Regions from separate parts of the Homo sapiens genome. Here region 2 is linked to region 1. Evidence: promoter capture Hi-C in human tissues and cell types (Jung and others, 2019). All regions are on one chromosome and are shown on one strand. The core of a region is centred on a gene start or on the middle of the fragment in contact, and the rest is flanking DNA. Distances in the headings are between cores, read along the strand shown.

Region 1 (7,683 bases), core at 4,454-6,953:
GGGCTCTTTCAAATAGCAGGTGCAAGGAGACTGGGTGATTCAAAGAGTCAATCATAACTTATATTGGCTTTGGGTGGACCGATAGACAGCCTGACGTATGGTCGGGCGGACAGTTAGAATGAGCGAATGCGTGGATGATGTACTACCAGTCTCCGACCACCACCAGTTTTCCCTAGCCGGAAACTAGTAGCAAAGCTTCCCCGAGACCGCTCTAAAGCTGCAGTTCTCCAGACGGCCGCCGGAAGAGGGCGCTGCGGATCGCCTCGGTCTGCAACCTTCAGACCCCAAGTCCTAGGCAGCGAGGGAGAATTCAGCCTCCCTCAAGTCCCAGAAAACATTGGGCCTCGGAGATTCCCCCTCCACCCTTCCCTCACACCCACCCCAATGGCCTGGGGTCGATACTGCGGCCACCGGAAACTGCCTGGGACAAGTGTTGGGGATGTGGGGGAGACGGGCTGTGGTGGGAGGTTGGAGAGGAGGAAAGGAGCGGAGGAGGGAACCCCAGCGCTGCTGGCAAGCCCGCGGGAAACTCGAACACCCAAGGCCCACGGGCTCCCACTGTTGGGACTGAGATTTGTTGGGGAACAGAGGGCAGAAAGAGCTATAGGTTTCGACTACCTAAAGCTGAATGAGGCTGCACAGGTCCTGGGGCGAAAACAGCCGCGCCGCCACAAGGATGCTTCGGGAATCTGTCCTTTAATTATCAGGAGCAGCTGCGAAACTTACCTTAGCGCAGCACGAACCCTAGAGCGCCCCCGAGGGTGTCCCTGCCCCTTCCGACGGGGGCGTCTGGCGGATTCGCGGCGTAGCACGGCAGCGCGGGCCTCACAGGGTCGGCTGACCGCTTCAGGCCCGTGCTCCTACCTCCCGTCTCCGTCTTGGTTTCCTCGCAATTCAAAGGGAGCTGCTGAGCTCCCGCTGTTCTCTGCTTTGTAACCCGCTCCCTCAGGTTCCCTCCTACCCCAGGCCCCTTCCCGCCAGAGGGCGCCCCTGGAGTCGGTGGAGAAGGTAGGGGCTCTAAATACAAAAATTCAAGACGAGTTGAATCTTGGCTTGAACTGCGTGACAGGAAAATAGGCAAGTTTGGAGACCACAGGTGTTAACTTCTAGTGGGGCTTGACCCGACAGAGGAGCAGATTCTTCAACACCAAAGGCCTAAGGGCCGGACTCTCTTCGCGGACTCTGGCCCTCATAGACGCGCCCTCGCCTCCCATACCCTCCGTAGAGCATGCCTGTGAGGGAAAGGGAGAAGCAGAAGCCGCGCTCGGATGACTTGGCGCCCCACCCCCCAGCCTGCCCACAGGCCACGAATTGAGAAAAGCTTTCCCAAAAGGAAAGTCCTCTCAAAGGCCCTAGACGGTCAAATCGGGAAAGGGAGCAGTAGAGGGATCCTTCCTCCCGCTGCGTCTGTGAAAGCCGCCTGTCTGCACGCCCCGGGCTCCCGCGGTCCCTCCCGAGGATTTCGGTTCTGGTGCCTGAGAAAGCAGCGCAGAGGGGGCCCTGCGAGACCCCTCCAGAGAAATCATCCCCCGGAGGCATTCCTCGGATCTTGGGGTTGCGGAGCAGCGCCCCCCAGCGCCCAGTTACACTCCTGCCTTCCGCTCCCTGCGCCTGGTTGCCTCGATGGCACTCGCGAGCCCAGCTCAGCCCGGCTTAGAAGCCTGTGCCTAGCTGTGGGAGACTGCGGGAGCAACTGAGGGGCCCAAGTGTTTCTTGTTGAAGGTCAGAGGCCTAGAGTCACAGTTTCTCTAAATCCAAAATACAGAATCAGAAGGAATAACTCCTTCTATTAGCGACTTTTGTGATCTACAAACTCAGGCACATGATCTCATCCTGAATTGTTTGGATCCCTAGCACAAACCAAGCCAGTACACAGGGCAGGTTGTGACCATTTTTTACAGCTCAGGAAACAGGTGCTCGGAGGCTGTGTTTCCTCAGCGTTTCTCGAGGCACTGGGGGGTTCAAAGATAGATAAAACAGGGGCTCACCCTCAAGGAGGGAAGCCAGAAAACACACACTGGTTTACTCTGGCTGTGATGGGAGTGACTCCAGGGTGTGGCGGGAGCCCACAAGAGCGGTACTGCACAGCTGGAAAAAGGCAAAGCCAGGGTTCAAACCTAGGACGGACTTCCACTCAAGGACTCCTCTCACGACCTTGGAATGCTGAGAGATCAAGAAATGGTGCAAAAACCCACACACGAATCTCCATTACAACCCTCTCTATCTCACTGGATCCTAGAGTAACATCTGTCAGAAAGTAACTACATATTATTTGGGTGATTTATTGTGAATGTGTAAGTTCCGTGTGAGTAGGAGCTGCATCTAGATTAAGTTTGAATTTTCAGGCCTTGCGTAGTCCCTGGCACAGAGCCCTAGCTGAATAAATACTGTCGAGTGAATCAAAAATTGCGATAAAACTTGGAGCAAAATAACACTACCAGGAGACAGAGTGGCTCAGCGCCCTAAACAGGTGTGGAGGACCACAAAGGGAGTTAGAAAAAGCAGTTGGGGGGTGGGGCGGTGAGACAGGTGGTTCCTCCTCACAGTTCCACCTGGTCCAAGCTACAGACCCCAAATTAGCCTTCTTTTGTATGAGCCCTCTGTTCTTGTCTCGCAAAGTGACACTGGAGGGAGAGAAAGGAGTTTCCCTGCGGCCACGCTGGTGTAAGCAAAGGCTGATGGCGATTCCGCGCATCTAGGGCCGAGCCTGGGCCTGCGCCCCCTCGGATTCCTGGCGGAGCCGCAGCCAGCGAAGCAGAGCGTGGTCGGAATAGAGGCAGCGACCGTGTGAGGTCGCGCCAGGGAAAGCTCCGCGAGGGGCCAGCGTTGGGCCCTGCCCTGCCCTGACCGCTCCCCACTGTGCCCACTCCACCCGGGAGCAAGCTAGTTGCGGGATAAAGGAATACGCGCAGACTTCGCAAAGTGCAATCGGGGTTCTTCGTATTCATGGAAAAAAAAATCACTGGTTTAGCCCGGGTCTGCCCTATTTAGGATGAGTCCAGGAGGCGGCGGAAAGAAAGGACGCTCTTCGGTCAGAGGGAGGTGTTTCGGGCCATGGGAGGGACTCTGGAGGCCTTTGCTTGGATAAGCTTGGAGATACAGATGTCCTTCTCTTCCCTACAAGGTGCGTTAGTCTCCGGGCTTATTTTCGGCAGTGCAGTGGTACTGGGGAAGAAGGCAGAGCCGCGTGTTGAGAAGGGGCTAGGGTAGTAGAGGCGCTGGAGCCTGGGCGGCAGGGCGCTGCAAAGGCCCAGGCGAGGTGGATAGAGAGCTTGCTGGTGCGCGCGAGAAGCACGCCTGCAGGCAGAGGTTGAAGCGCCGTCCCAGTTGTGTCCCAGAGTGAAGCGGGAGTCTTTGCCCGCCCCAGCCACTTCGAGCTCCACTCCAGTTCAGCTCCCAGAGTCGCCACTTGCTGCGCGGTTGTTGGGGAGGGGGTTCCTGGTCCAGAACGAGACGTGGGGGGCTGGGGGTTTCCTCGAGAACTGCAGGCCTGGTTGCCCCCGGACTGTCAGAGCCGGAGGCCGGGGAGCTGCCAGCCACGTGCGCCTGTGGCCTGCTGAGAGGTTGAAAAGCTGCCAAGGGACGAAGGCCGAGAAGACAGGACCTAGGGGCTGTGGAAGATTCACCCAACTCTTCCTTTTACTCAGGTCTTGGGACCTAAGAGGGGGTGGGGATAGTCATGATAATAACTACCGCAATCTCCAGTGCTGGCACTGAGCTGAAAAACATTCAAAGCTTTCAAAGCATTTTGATGTGCTTCATCTTACTTGAATCTCACAAAAACCTTGTGAAGATTGATCTCCATTTCTAAATGGCGTTGAGACTGGAAGAGATGTACAACATTCTACACTTGGTGTTCCTTAAACTTACAAACAACTATGAAATAATGGCGAGTGAGAGAAAGAAGCTGGGTGACTGGGAAACCCACCCCGCCTTCGCAATTAGACCCCATTCGGGACTCAGGCCCGGCCAGGTCGCGCCTGCAGACAAGGTCTGTATTCAGCGTTGCCAGTTCTCCTCTGTGGTTCGCTTAAGCCCGGCGTCGCCTCCCCTCCTTGCTTAGCCACCACAGTGATCAATGCTCAGTTCGTCGGGGCCTGAGAGCGCCCCCCAGAGAAGCCCCTGGGAAGGAAGGGCAAGGAGCCGGGCTTCGCTCTGGTCTTTCGCAACACCAGCGGCGAGCGCGTCTCCCTGCGCAAACGTAGGGTGGCCTCCCCAGCTCTGCCGTGGGGACCGCACAAAAACGCGGGCGCAGGTGGGAGGGCGGAGGGTGTCCTGAGCTTTCTTTACCCTGGTAAAGAAGGTAGGCGGTGAGAAAAGCGAATGTTATTATAGAAGTTGGCTTTGTATTGAGGGAGTAAGAGCTCTCTTCAAGGAGAGGGCTGAAATCTTTAAAAATAAATAAAACTTTCTCTACTGTAATTGCTATTAATAAAAAAAGGGAGCCCGGATGAATTAAGTAGCTCAAAACTGCCTGTTCGTCATGATCAGGAGCTCCTTCTCTACAAGGAGGGGAAAGAAAATGTGAAAACAAAAACTAAATTCAAGAAGCTCCTTGACCAGCGCGGGTGTCTTGGAGGCACCTGCCGGGGCCGGCCGGGGAGCGCTCCGCCCTCCCAGCCCCTGGCGCGCAGAGGAGACTAAAACAGCTAAGGAGAAAGCAAAACAAAAACAATGATAAAAACGTTTAAAATCCAAGGACAAAAACCGGAGTCGGTCTCAAAATCCGCGCCGTTCAGTGCTCCACTCGGTAGTCGACTCGGCTGCAGGCCCCGGCCTGGCCGGAGCAACGCGGGGGACACCCCCGATTCCGCTGGGGAGCGCAGCCCACAGCTCCCCCTCGCCAGGCGCCCAAGGACCCTCAAGGCGCGGGGCCCACACTTGAAGCCTGGGAACGCGCAGACAGGAAACCCTCTTCCTCCTAAGCAGTTTCTTGCTCGTCGGATGAGAGGCGCCCAATTGAAGCAGAATGATCCTCATCTACTAATATCCAGCGTGGCCACAAAGCGACTGGCCATTTACGCCACCACTTTAAACAAAGATATTTGGTTATTCCCGGGAAGCAAGAGCACTTTTGCATGGCTGAGCTGCGGGCGGAGGCGAGCCTCGGCCCAGCCTCCCGCCCGCTGAGCTGCCCGCACCTCGGCATTCGCCCCCTCCTGGCCAGCGCTCCAGCCGCCGGGGTTCAGGCTCAGTTCCGCCCGGCAACAGACAGACGGGCACTCACGCCGCTCCCTGCTCGCGCGCTCCCTGAAGCATCAGAGGGGAAAACAGCGTGGCTCTGGGCTCGGGTGCTGGGGCTGTGATGTCCTCGGAAAGTCAGCTCCAGCCCCAGATCCCCGCGTGTCTGGGAGATGGGCGAGGGTCAGGGACACCAGGTTTGTTCGAGGTGGGGCAACTTCAGTGACGGACCCTCCCGTGAGACCCCTTCCCATCCTCCCAGCTCTGGGGGCCAGTGCTGTGTTTGCTCGGCCGGGGGTGGGGGGGGGGGGGGAAGACCTTGGGGGAGGCGTGTTAGCGGGGGTGGCCCACTGAAAAACCCCTGAGCTGCGGGGGCGGGTTGTGGCTCGGGGATCCGGGACAGCCTCCGGGAGGCAGTCGATCCCCTACTCAGCGCCCCCTCCGCCCGCTCGGATTCTCTCCGGTAGGGGGAAAGGGGGCGGGGAGCAGAGGTGTCCCTCTGACGGCGGCAGAAGAGAGGCAGACAGACTGACAGACACGTAGACCAACAGTGCGGCCCCAGGGTTCGTCCCCAGACTCGCTCGCTCATTTGTTGGCGACTGGGGCTCAGCGCAGCGAAGCCCGATGTGGTCCGGAGGCAGTGGGAAGGCGCGGGGCTGGGAGGCCGCGGCGGGAGGGAGGAGCAGCCCCGGCAGGCTCAGGTGAAACCCCCACCCTGTCCCTCAGCCCCCTCCTCCTAAAGACCTGTCCGTGCCCGGGGAACCCCGACCGAATTGGAAAGTGGTTCCACTTTGTAACTCCGCAAGTTGGTTGCAAAGCAGCATTCACCTTCCTTCCTCTCAACCATCTCTCCTCCTCTGTTACTCCCCCACCCCACCTCCTGCCCTCCCCGCTCTCGGTTCCCTCCTCCTTCCCCTCCCCTCCACCTCCTCCCCGCGCTCCGCTGGTACCCCACAAAAAATGGGGGTGGGGGTGTCCAAGGGAGGGGGGAAATGCTTTGGGTCTCGTCTCTGCCTCTCTCTCTCTCTCTTTGAGACCTAAAAATCCTGACAAGTGAAACTTAAAGGTGTTTACCTTGTCATCAGCATGTAAGCTAATTATCTCGGGCAAGATGTAGGCTTCTATTGTCTTGTTGCTTTAGCGCTTACGCCCCGCCTCTGGTGGCTGCCTAAAACCTGGCGCCGGGCTAAAACAAACGCGAGGCAGCCCCCGAGCCTCCACTCAAGCCAATTAAGGAGGACTCGGTCCACTCCGTTACGTGTACATCCAACAAGATCGGCGTTAAGGTAACACCAGAATATTTGGCAAAGGGAGAAAAAAAAAGCAGCGAGGCTTCGCCTTCCCCCTCTCCCTTTTTTTTCCTCCTCTTCCTTCCTCCTCCAGCCGCCGCCGAATCATGTCGATGAGTCCAAAGCACACGACTCCGTTCTCAGTGTCTGACATCTTGAGTCCCCTGGAGGAAAGCTACAAGAAAGTGGGCATGGAGGGCGGCGGCCTCGGGGCTCCGCTGGCGGCGTACAGGCAGGGCCAGGCGGCACCGCCAACAGCGGCCATGCAGCAGCACGCCGTGGGGCACCACGGCGCCGTCACCGCCGCCTACCACATGACGGCGGCGGGGGTGCCCCAGCTCTCGCACTCCGCCGTGGGGGGCTACTGCAACGGCAACCTGGGCAACATGAGCGAGCTGCCGCCGTACCAGGACACCATGAGGAACAGCGCCTCTGGCCCCGGATGGTACGGCGCCAACCCAGACCCGCGCTTCCCCGCCAGTAAGTGAGGCCGCCCCACTGCGGGGCCGCGGGCTGAGCTCAGGAGGTGCGGCGAGAGCCGTCCAGAAGGCGCGGCGCCGGCAGGCTGCGCGCTGGGCATCAGGGAGGGCGGCCCGGCAGCGGCGCCAGGGACTTGGGTGCGGGAGCTGGGGATGCTTCCCCCTGCTCGGCTGGGGGTCCAAGAACAGGCACTTGGTAGCGCTGGGGTCCTGCGGTCAGATGCGGGTACTCGGCGTCTCCTAGGCGCGGTGGACTGGCAGCTCTGCTCGGCGCAGAAGACCTCGGGGAGCCAAGGGAAGCGACCCCGAGCTCAAGGAGCAGGGGCGAGCAGAGCGCGGAGAGGCTAGACCGGGCCAGGAGGGAGGCTGCCCTGTTGGGAGGCACTCGAGCGCCCGGCCCGGCCCTCTCTCCAGCGGAGTCTGGGCAGGTGGGAGGACTCGCAGTTCCAGAGGGGACTCTAAGGGTCCGAGCAGGTGCCCTCACTGGGGCCTGACAGGAGAGAAGCCAAGAGGCAAAGCGTCTGGGGGCTCCAGCTTTTGGAAGTCAACACCCCCTCTCCTAACCTCTCCAAACTGGGGTCTACCGTAGGACCCCAGCTCCCGGCCTGAGCCCAGTTCGCCGCCTGTGGCCAGCTAATCCTAATGCTCTGACCCGGGCTGGGCACGAAAGGAGCAGAAGCGGCCTTTCCCCCACTGCGTCTTTTGGTTCGAAAGAGGGAACTGAGACTGAGGGA
Region 2 (7,683 bases), core at 1,998-4,497, 690 kb after region 1:
ACCAACATTTGAGAAGAAAACACTGTGAAAGTTTAACATGAAAGACATATGGTAGAACAGAGATGCTTTAACAGAAGCAAACTGCAAAATTTATTTAAACAATTTCTTTGCACTTAAAATTTTGACTTGTAGTTCAAATTATTATCACATTCTTCAAAAATTAAGTTGTTCATTATTTTTTGGGATGGAATTTTTAAAAGTTAAAAATCACAAGAGTCAACATAAAAATTATAGGGGGAGAATTTTAACAAATAGAATTTTATGAGATCCTTGCTCCTATCATAAATGCAAGAACATCTGAAGACAAAATACTTTATAGATCTAAGAAACATATTCACCAACAGGCCAGGTGCAGTGGCTCCCGCCTGTAATCCCAGCACTTTGGGAGGCAGAGTCGGGTGGATCACTTGAAGTCAGGAGTTCAAGACCAGCCTGGCCAACGTGGCAAAACCCCATCTCTACTAAAAACACAAAAATTAGCCGGGTGTGTTGGAGGATGCCTGTAATCCCAGCTACTCAGGAGGCTGAGGCTGGAGAATCTAATCCAGGAGGCAGAGGTTGCAGCGAGCCAAGATCGTGCCACTGCACTCCAGCCTGGGTGACAGAGCAAGACTGTCTCAAAAAAAAGAAAAAAAAAAAAGAAATATATTCCCATACAGTCTCCTTTCTCTATATTCCCCGCTTTTGAAATCTCACCTACTTTCATGGCAAGGCAGATGACTTACAAATTATTCTCCCCTTCCCATATCGGGCAGGTTCCAATGTCACATTTCCATTTGTCAGTTGGGCAATCTTAAGCATACTGCCATCACTCCAAAAGCAACACGTCGGCCAGGCACGGTGGCTCACACCTATAATCCTAACACTTGGGGAGGCCGAGGCAGGCAGATCACCTGAGGTCAGGAGTTCAAGACCATCCTGGCCAACATGGTGAAACACAAAAATTATCTGAGCGTGGCGGCGCATGCCTGTAATCCCAGCTACTCGGGAGGCTGAGGCAGGAGAATTGCTTGTACCCTGGAGGTGGAGGTTGCAGTGAGCCAAGATGATGCCATTGCACTCCAGCCTGGGTGCCAAGAGCAAAACTCCTTCTCAAAAAAAAAAAAAAAAAAAGGCTGGGAATGGTAGCTCATGCCTGTAATCCCAGCACATTGGGAGGTTGAAGTGGGTGGATCACGAGGTCAGGAGTTCGAGACCAGCCTGGACAACATGGAGAAACCCTGTCTCTACTAAAAATACAAAAAATTAGCTTGGTGTGGTGGCACCCGCCTATAATCACAGCTACTCGGGAGGCTAAGGCAGGAGAATTGCTTGAACCCAGGAGGCGGAGGTTGCAGTGAGCCAAGATCACGCCATTACACTCCAGCCTGGGCAACAGAGCGAGACTCCATCTCAAAGAGAGAAAAGAAAAAAAAAAGCAACATGTCTGAAATACTCTTTTCTTTCACCTTCATCTCAAATCTTTCACTTTTCTATTTCTGTTGATGCTACCGCCACTCTCCTTGTATCTTGGTTTTTCTCTTACCTTCAATCCTAAACTTGCATTCATCAATCCTGTTTTGTGCTTTCTTTGAAATCACTCACATCTATACTTTCCTGTTCTTTTCCGAGCTCAACTCCTTCTCCCAAGGTTTTCACGCTCTTTTGAATAAGCCCCAAACTCTGGCCCTTGTACTTTTTCTTACATCCCTCTCCCTGCAGGGATACCCACCACCCCAAACCAAATTCTACTCATTCTTCAAGATAATTAAGGTAATCCCACCTTCTTCAGCTAGGCTTTGTGACCACCCAATATTGAAACGATTTCCTCTGCCTCTGAATTCCTACAGCAACATTTAGTTAAGCATTCATTTGGCAATTTAATCAAGTGGTGACTTATGATAGCTTTTTAAGTGAGCCCAGATAATAACTATTTATCCCTCATATTGAGTACTGTCCAGTGCTGCACAAAGAAGTCACTCATAAATATTTTTGGATGGCTGATTTACTGATTGAAATTATATCCTTCCATGGAGATTTGCTTTGCAAGGGAAACATGAAAAGAGGGCATCTGGGTGATACTAGGCTGTCATCAACCTATCATCAATGCTTCCTTTACATGACCAAAATCAGGCCAAGACAAAGAAGTCAGTCTCATCTCCATCATTTGAATCGAAAGAAAATAATCCCGGTAATCACAAATTCCATTTCACTTTAGAATAACCATTCCTAAAAGTTTGCAAAATTTATTTGTAGTGTTAATCTGCCCTCCTCCCCCACCCAAAATAATTTAAAACAGCCCAAAGTTAGAAAAAACTGAAGGGAAGAAAAGACTTGGAGAATTTTCAACGCTGCCAAAACTCAGCCAATTTATAAGCATATGAAGATCCAAAATGAGCCCGAATGTTGGTCCCTTCCTCTCAGTCTTGCAAACTTCAGGGAGCTACTGAACGGGACCGCTCTCAAGTTAGCCCCCGAAAAGACACTGATGTAAAAGTGCTGACCGGCAAGTTGACTTGCAAACTGAGGTTAATTACTAAGCCGACCCTCTGTCCCGGCAACTCACTTGCGCTGAGAAGTGAGGGTTGCAAAGGTGAAAATAGGGAAAGAGGTCGGTGGGCTGGGGAGAGGAGGCATTTCCAGTTTGTCTGCTGCGGGAAGTTGTCCGCCTGGGCTGGTCGCTCCAGAGCACCACCGGGGGCAGGACCACGCCGCGTTTGGGAGCTGGACAAGCCCAGGCCCGCCCCGCCCCGCCGCCGGGACCCATCAGGAGCCAGACAGCGCCCAGCGACCGGTCAGGGTGCAGCCCAGGGCCCAGAGCCAGTCTCCGCCCCTTCCCTCTGTCCCCGCCCCGCTTTCCCAGCAGGACGCAGCCGCCTGGCGTGCGGAGAGCGGCCTGTCGCGCGCTGGGCGCGGGGACTCAGGGTCCCAGCAGTGGGTCGCGCACCTGAGCTATCTCCATCCTCGGAGACCGACGAGCTCTCAGTGTCCTCGTCCTCGGAGCTGCTCCCCTCATTTTCGGCGTAGTCCACCTCCATCTCATCGTGATGGTTGGTCTCCTTCTTATCCCCTCGGGAATGGACTGGCATTTTCCAGCCGCGCCGTCGCTTTCCACTACCGGCGCCCAGCCCGGCCACCGCCGCTTCAATGAAGGGCGCGCGGAACGCCCCAACCCACCCAGCCACCGAGCTTGCTCGCCCCCTTGGCTCCTCCCCGCCCCCGGCCCGGGCCTCACAACCTAACCCGCAGGCTCTGCGATGGGAGCTCTGCCATTGGCGGAGGCCTTCCACCGAGCCAGAGGGCGGGGGCTTGCCCTGCTCTGGTACGATTGGTTGCCCGCAATTACGACGCGGCCTTCCGATGCTTGCCGGGAGTTGTAGTTCGTAGGTCTCAGACCTGCAGGGGCTGCACGCTTCCATCCCTCGGCAGCCCTGATCACTTCTTCCTTCTGGACTTCAAGTCCCACAAGGCACGAAAGCTGACACTCTGGATCGCAGTTTATAAACTAAACAGAAACAGATTGTGCGAATTTAGTCTGTATTTATCTATTTCCCGCCAAGTGATTGTTTGACCTGCCTGACCATCAGAGATGTTACTGTTAGATGTGAAAATGTCTTTTGCCTAAAAGGATCTTTGCCTGCTCATTGAGCCTGGGGAACTGGAGAACCATCTGTTTTACTAAGCACCTTTATTACCTACCATTAATAAACTGTTTTATTTAATTATTAACTATAGACGATAACTTGCACTTTCTGTGTTGTGCAAAAATCTTTAAATTATTCTTGAAACTTTTACAATACAGAAGGTAAGGAAGTTTTATCTTGGCATTTTCAATCTAATATTTTTGGCATTTATTTTTTACCAAATGCAGTCGGAAAATGCCATCAGTCCTGATTTAACTTTAGTTTTCAATGAAAAATACATACTTAACCAGATGTACTTTCTCAAAAAAAGGGTACATAGCTCCCTCTCCCTCTCCCTCGCCCTCGCCCTCGCCCTCGCCCTCTCCACGGTCTCCCTCTCCCTCTCTTTCCACGGTCTCCCACTGATGCCGAGCCGAAGCTGGACTGTACTGCTGCCATCTCGGCTCACTGCAACCTCCCTGCCTGATTCTCCTGCCTCAGCCTGCCGAGTGCCTGCGATTGCAGGCGCGTGCCGCCACGCCTGACTGGTTTTCGTATTTTTTTGGTGGAGACGGTTTCGCTGTGTTGGCCGGGCTGGTCTCCAGCTCCTAACCGCGAATGATCCGCCAGCCCCGACCTCCCGAGGTGCCGGGATTGCAGACGGAGTCTCGTTCACTCAGTGCTCAATGGTGCCCAGGCTGGAGTGCAGTGGCGTGATCTCGGCTCGCTACAACCACCTCCCAGCCGCCTGCCTTGGCCTCCCAAAGAGCCGAGATTGCAGCCTCTGCCCGGCCGCCACCCCGTCTGGGAAGTGAGGAGCGTCTCTGCCTGGCCGCCCATCGTCTGGGATGTGAGGAGCCCCTCTACCTGGCTGCCCAGTCTGGAAAGTGAGGAGCGTCTCTGCCCGGCCGCCATCCCATCTAGGAAGTGAGGAGCGTCTCTGCCTGGCAGCCCATCGTCTGGGATGTGGGGAGCACCTCTGCCCCGCCGCCCCGTCTGGGATGTGAGGAGCGCCTCTGCCCAGCCGCGACCCCGTCTGGGAGGTGAGGAGCGTCTCTGCCCGGCCACCCCGTCTGAGAAGTGAGGAGACCCTCTGCCCGGCAACCGCCCCGTCTGAGAAGTGAGGAGCCCCTCCGCCCGGCAGCCGCCCCGTCTGAGAAGTGAGGAGCCCCTCCGTCCGGCAGCCACCCCGTCTGGGAAGTGAAGAGCGTCTCCGCCCGGCAGCCACCCCGTCCGGGAGGGAGGTGGGGGTCAGCCCCCGCCAGGCCAGCCTCCCGGACGGGAGGGAGGTGGGGGGGTCAGCGCCCCGCCCGGCCAGCCGCCCCTTCCGGGAGGGAGGTGGGGGGGTCAGCGCCCCGCCCGGCCAGCCGCCCCTTCTGGGAGGGAGGTTGGGGGTCAGCCCCCTGCCCGGCCAGCCGCCCCGCCCGGGAGGTGAGGGGCGCCTCTGCCCGGCCGCCCCTACTGGGAAGTGAGGAGCCCCTCTGCCCGGCCACCACCCCGTCTGGGAGGTGTGCCCAACAGCTCATTGAGAACGGGCCAGGATGACAATGGCGGCTTTGTGGAATAGAAAGGCGGGAAAGGTGGGGAAAAGATTGAGAAATCGGATGGTTGCCGTGTCTGTGTAGAAAGAAGTAGACATGGGAGACTTGTCATTTTGTTCTGTACTAAGAAAACTTCTTCTGCCTTGGGATCCTGTTGATCTGTGACCTTACCCCCAACCCTGTGCTCTCTGAAACATGTGCTGTGTCCACTCAGGGTTAAATGGATTAAGGTCGGTGCAAGATGTGCTTTGTTAAACAGATGCTTGAAGGCAGCATGCTCGTTAAGAGTCATCACCACTCCCTAATCTCAGGTACCCAGGGACACAAACACTGCGGAAGGCCGCAGGGTCCTCTGCCTAGGAAAACCAGAGACCTTTGTTCACTTGTTTATCTGCTGACCTTCCCTCCACTATTGTCCTATGACCCTGCCAAATCCCCCTCTGCGAGAAACACCCAAGAATGATCAATAAAAATAAATAAATAAATAAATAAATAAATAAAGGGTACATAGACAAGGAAGCCTCAATAGGTATCATAACTCATTAAGTGACCATTTATCCTCTGTATCAGGTATCTTGGTAAGCCCTTTACATGGGTTTAGTGAGTTTAATTCTCAATTTAATAGCCCTGAGTTAGGTGCCATTGTTATTCCCATTTTACGGATAAGGAAACTTCATTTGCAGACCAATCTTAAAACTATATTTTACCCCTTATAACGACAGGGTTTCTTCTTCTTGAAGTGGCAATTTGCTATTGAAAGATAGTACAGGCCGGCAGGGTGGCTAACGCCTGTAGTCCCCACACTTTAGGAGGCCGAGGCGAGTGGATCACTTGAGGTCAGGAGTTCAAGACCAGCCTGGCCAATATGGTGAAACCCAATCTCCAGAGGCTGAGGTGAGAGAATTGCTTGAACTTGAGAGGTCAAGATTGCAGTGAGCCGACATTGCACCACTGCACTCCAGCCTGGGTGACAGAGTGAGACCCTGTCTCCTGTCTCAAAGAGAAAAAAAAAAAAGTTCATAGAATATTGTGGATTGTATAGCATTGCATTCTCAAAGACAAGGTCCAAAAATATGCAGTTAAATTTGCAATTTTATTTAATTATCTATCTATTTAGAGACAAGATCTCGTTCTATCGCCCAAGCTGGAGTGCAATAGCAACCTCAAACTTCTGGGCACAAGCGATCATCTCGCCTCAGCCTTCCAAACACCTGAGACCACAGGCACATGCCACCATGCCCAGCTAATATTTTCGTTTTTTTTTAGTGACAGGGTCTAGCCCAGGCTGGTCTCGAACTCTAGTCTCAAGCAATCTGTCCACCTAAGCCTCCCAAAAGCACTGAGATTCCCAGATGTGAGCCACTGTACCCAACCTAGATTTGTAATTTAATGACAGAAAACCTTTTAAGTGCTACCTATCTCTTACAGAGTAAAATACAAAATAAGGGATGTGTATTATATTTAGTGTCAGCCTACTTCTCCCTTTCTCATTTTACAGTATTGTCCAAAATTGAACTCCTTACAGTTTCTAAACACACAAGCTGTTTCCCATTTCAGTGTCTTTGCACATTCTATTTCCTTTACAACCCTGTTCCTCTCCTTTTCTTTTTCAAAGCCACTTTTTAGACAACACATATCACCGTCAGCACCTCTACCATTCAGGGCACTCCTGTTCCTTCAGTTGACTGCTGTATTTTGAAATTTGCAAGTTTATACTTGTTCCTATGACAATATATTGTAAACTGTTTAGCAAATGCGTCTCACCTATTGGATTATGAGTTCCTTGAGAGCAGAGGTTGTCTTAAGCTGAAATGCAAGTGCAAAGGCATGCAGTAGTCAGGCAGGTCAAGTTAAAAGATGTAAGCTTTACATGAGTGGTACGGATTAAAGGGGGCAGCTGCATTTGGCCCCAGCCAATTGTTACTACCTGAGAATTTTGGCCTACCGATGTCAGACCTTCTGATTTCAAAGAGAAACCGGAAATTTGGATCTCTATGTGAAATATCTAGAACTATAAACATTATCTCAAGTGATGTTTTTTGTTTTGTTTTGTTTGTGTTCTTTAAACTTCAGATCAAACAAAAACAGCTGTGGGTAAAATCCCTGGCCTCTAAATATCAGCAGCTATCAGAGTGTGTGCTAAATCGTAACAATTAGATTTCTGGTCACTCAATGTGCCAAGTGTGTTATGTGCTTTAAGTACATTAATTCACTGAATCCTCATAACAATCCTATGAAGTCGATACTATTATGCCCTCCATTTTATAGATGAAAAAACCGAGGCACAGAGCAGTTAGAGTACTTGGCCAAAGTCACATAGCTACTACGTAACAGATCTAAGATTTGAACTTGGGTAGTCTGACATAAAAATCTGTGTGCAACCACTGGCATACAGTGCGCCTCTAGTGGTTGCTTTCTGTTTCTGCTGTTCCAGGAAAAACAGGAAAGGTGGAAAGGAGGAGGCATGGGTTCTAGCCTTGTTCTCCTAGTAACCAACTGATAAAATTTGGCAAACCACATAATCTCTGATCCGTTGTAAA

Evidence for each region. Contacts are between HindIII fragments. The study calls those that stand out against the background at their distance.
Region 2: the fragment with the promoter of BRMS1L here is called in contact with the fragment with the promoter of NKX2-1 in region 1 in 1 of the 25 tissues and cell types used here (neural progenitor cells).

The regions. Positions count from the first base shown.
Region 1 is chr14:36,518,252-36,525,934 of GRCh38, reverse strand. NKX2-1 (NK2 homeobox 1) reads left to right here and starts at 5,703. Exons shown (of 3, transcript NM_001079668.3): 1 at 5,703-5,882; 2 at 6,565-6,950. The coding sequence starts at 5,806. It overlaps SFTA3 (surfactant associated 3), which reads left to right and starts at 6,379. Exons shown (of 5, transcript NR_161365.1): 1 at 6,379-6,467. NKX2-1-AS1 (NKX2-1 antisense RNA 1) reads right to left here and starts at 6,657. Exons shown (of 2, transcript NR_103710.1): 1 at 6,256-6,657; 2 at 2,919-4,291. LOC105370453 (a long non-coding RNA gene) reads right to left here and starts at 1,246. Exons shown (of 3, transcript XR_001750715.2): 1 at 727-1,246. RefSeq lists enhancers at 131-1,069, 3,288-4,287, 4,288-5,287, 5,288-6,287, 7,446-7,683. The HindIII fragment of the contact is 7,239 bases long and covers 3,413-7,683 here.
Region 2 is chr14:35,821,902-35,829,584 of GRCh38, reverse strand. BRMS1L (BRMS1 like transcriptional repressor) reads right to left here and starts at 3,247. Exons shown (of 10, transcript NM_032352.4): 1 at 2,927-3,247. The coding sequence starts at 3,068. RefSeq lists silencers at 2,687-2,856, 3,107-3,206. The HindIII fragment of the contact is 14,376 bases long and covers 1-7,683 here.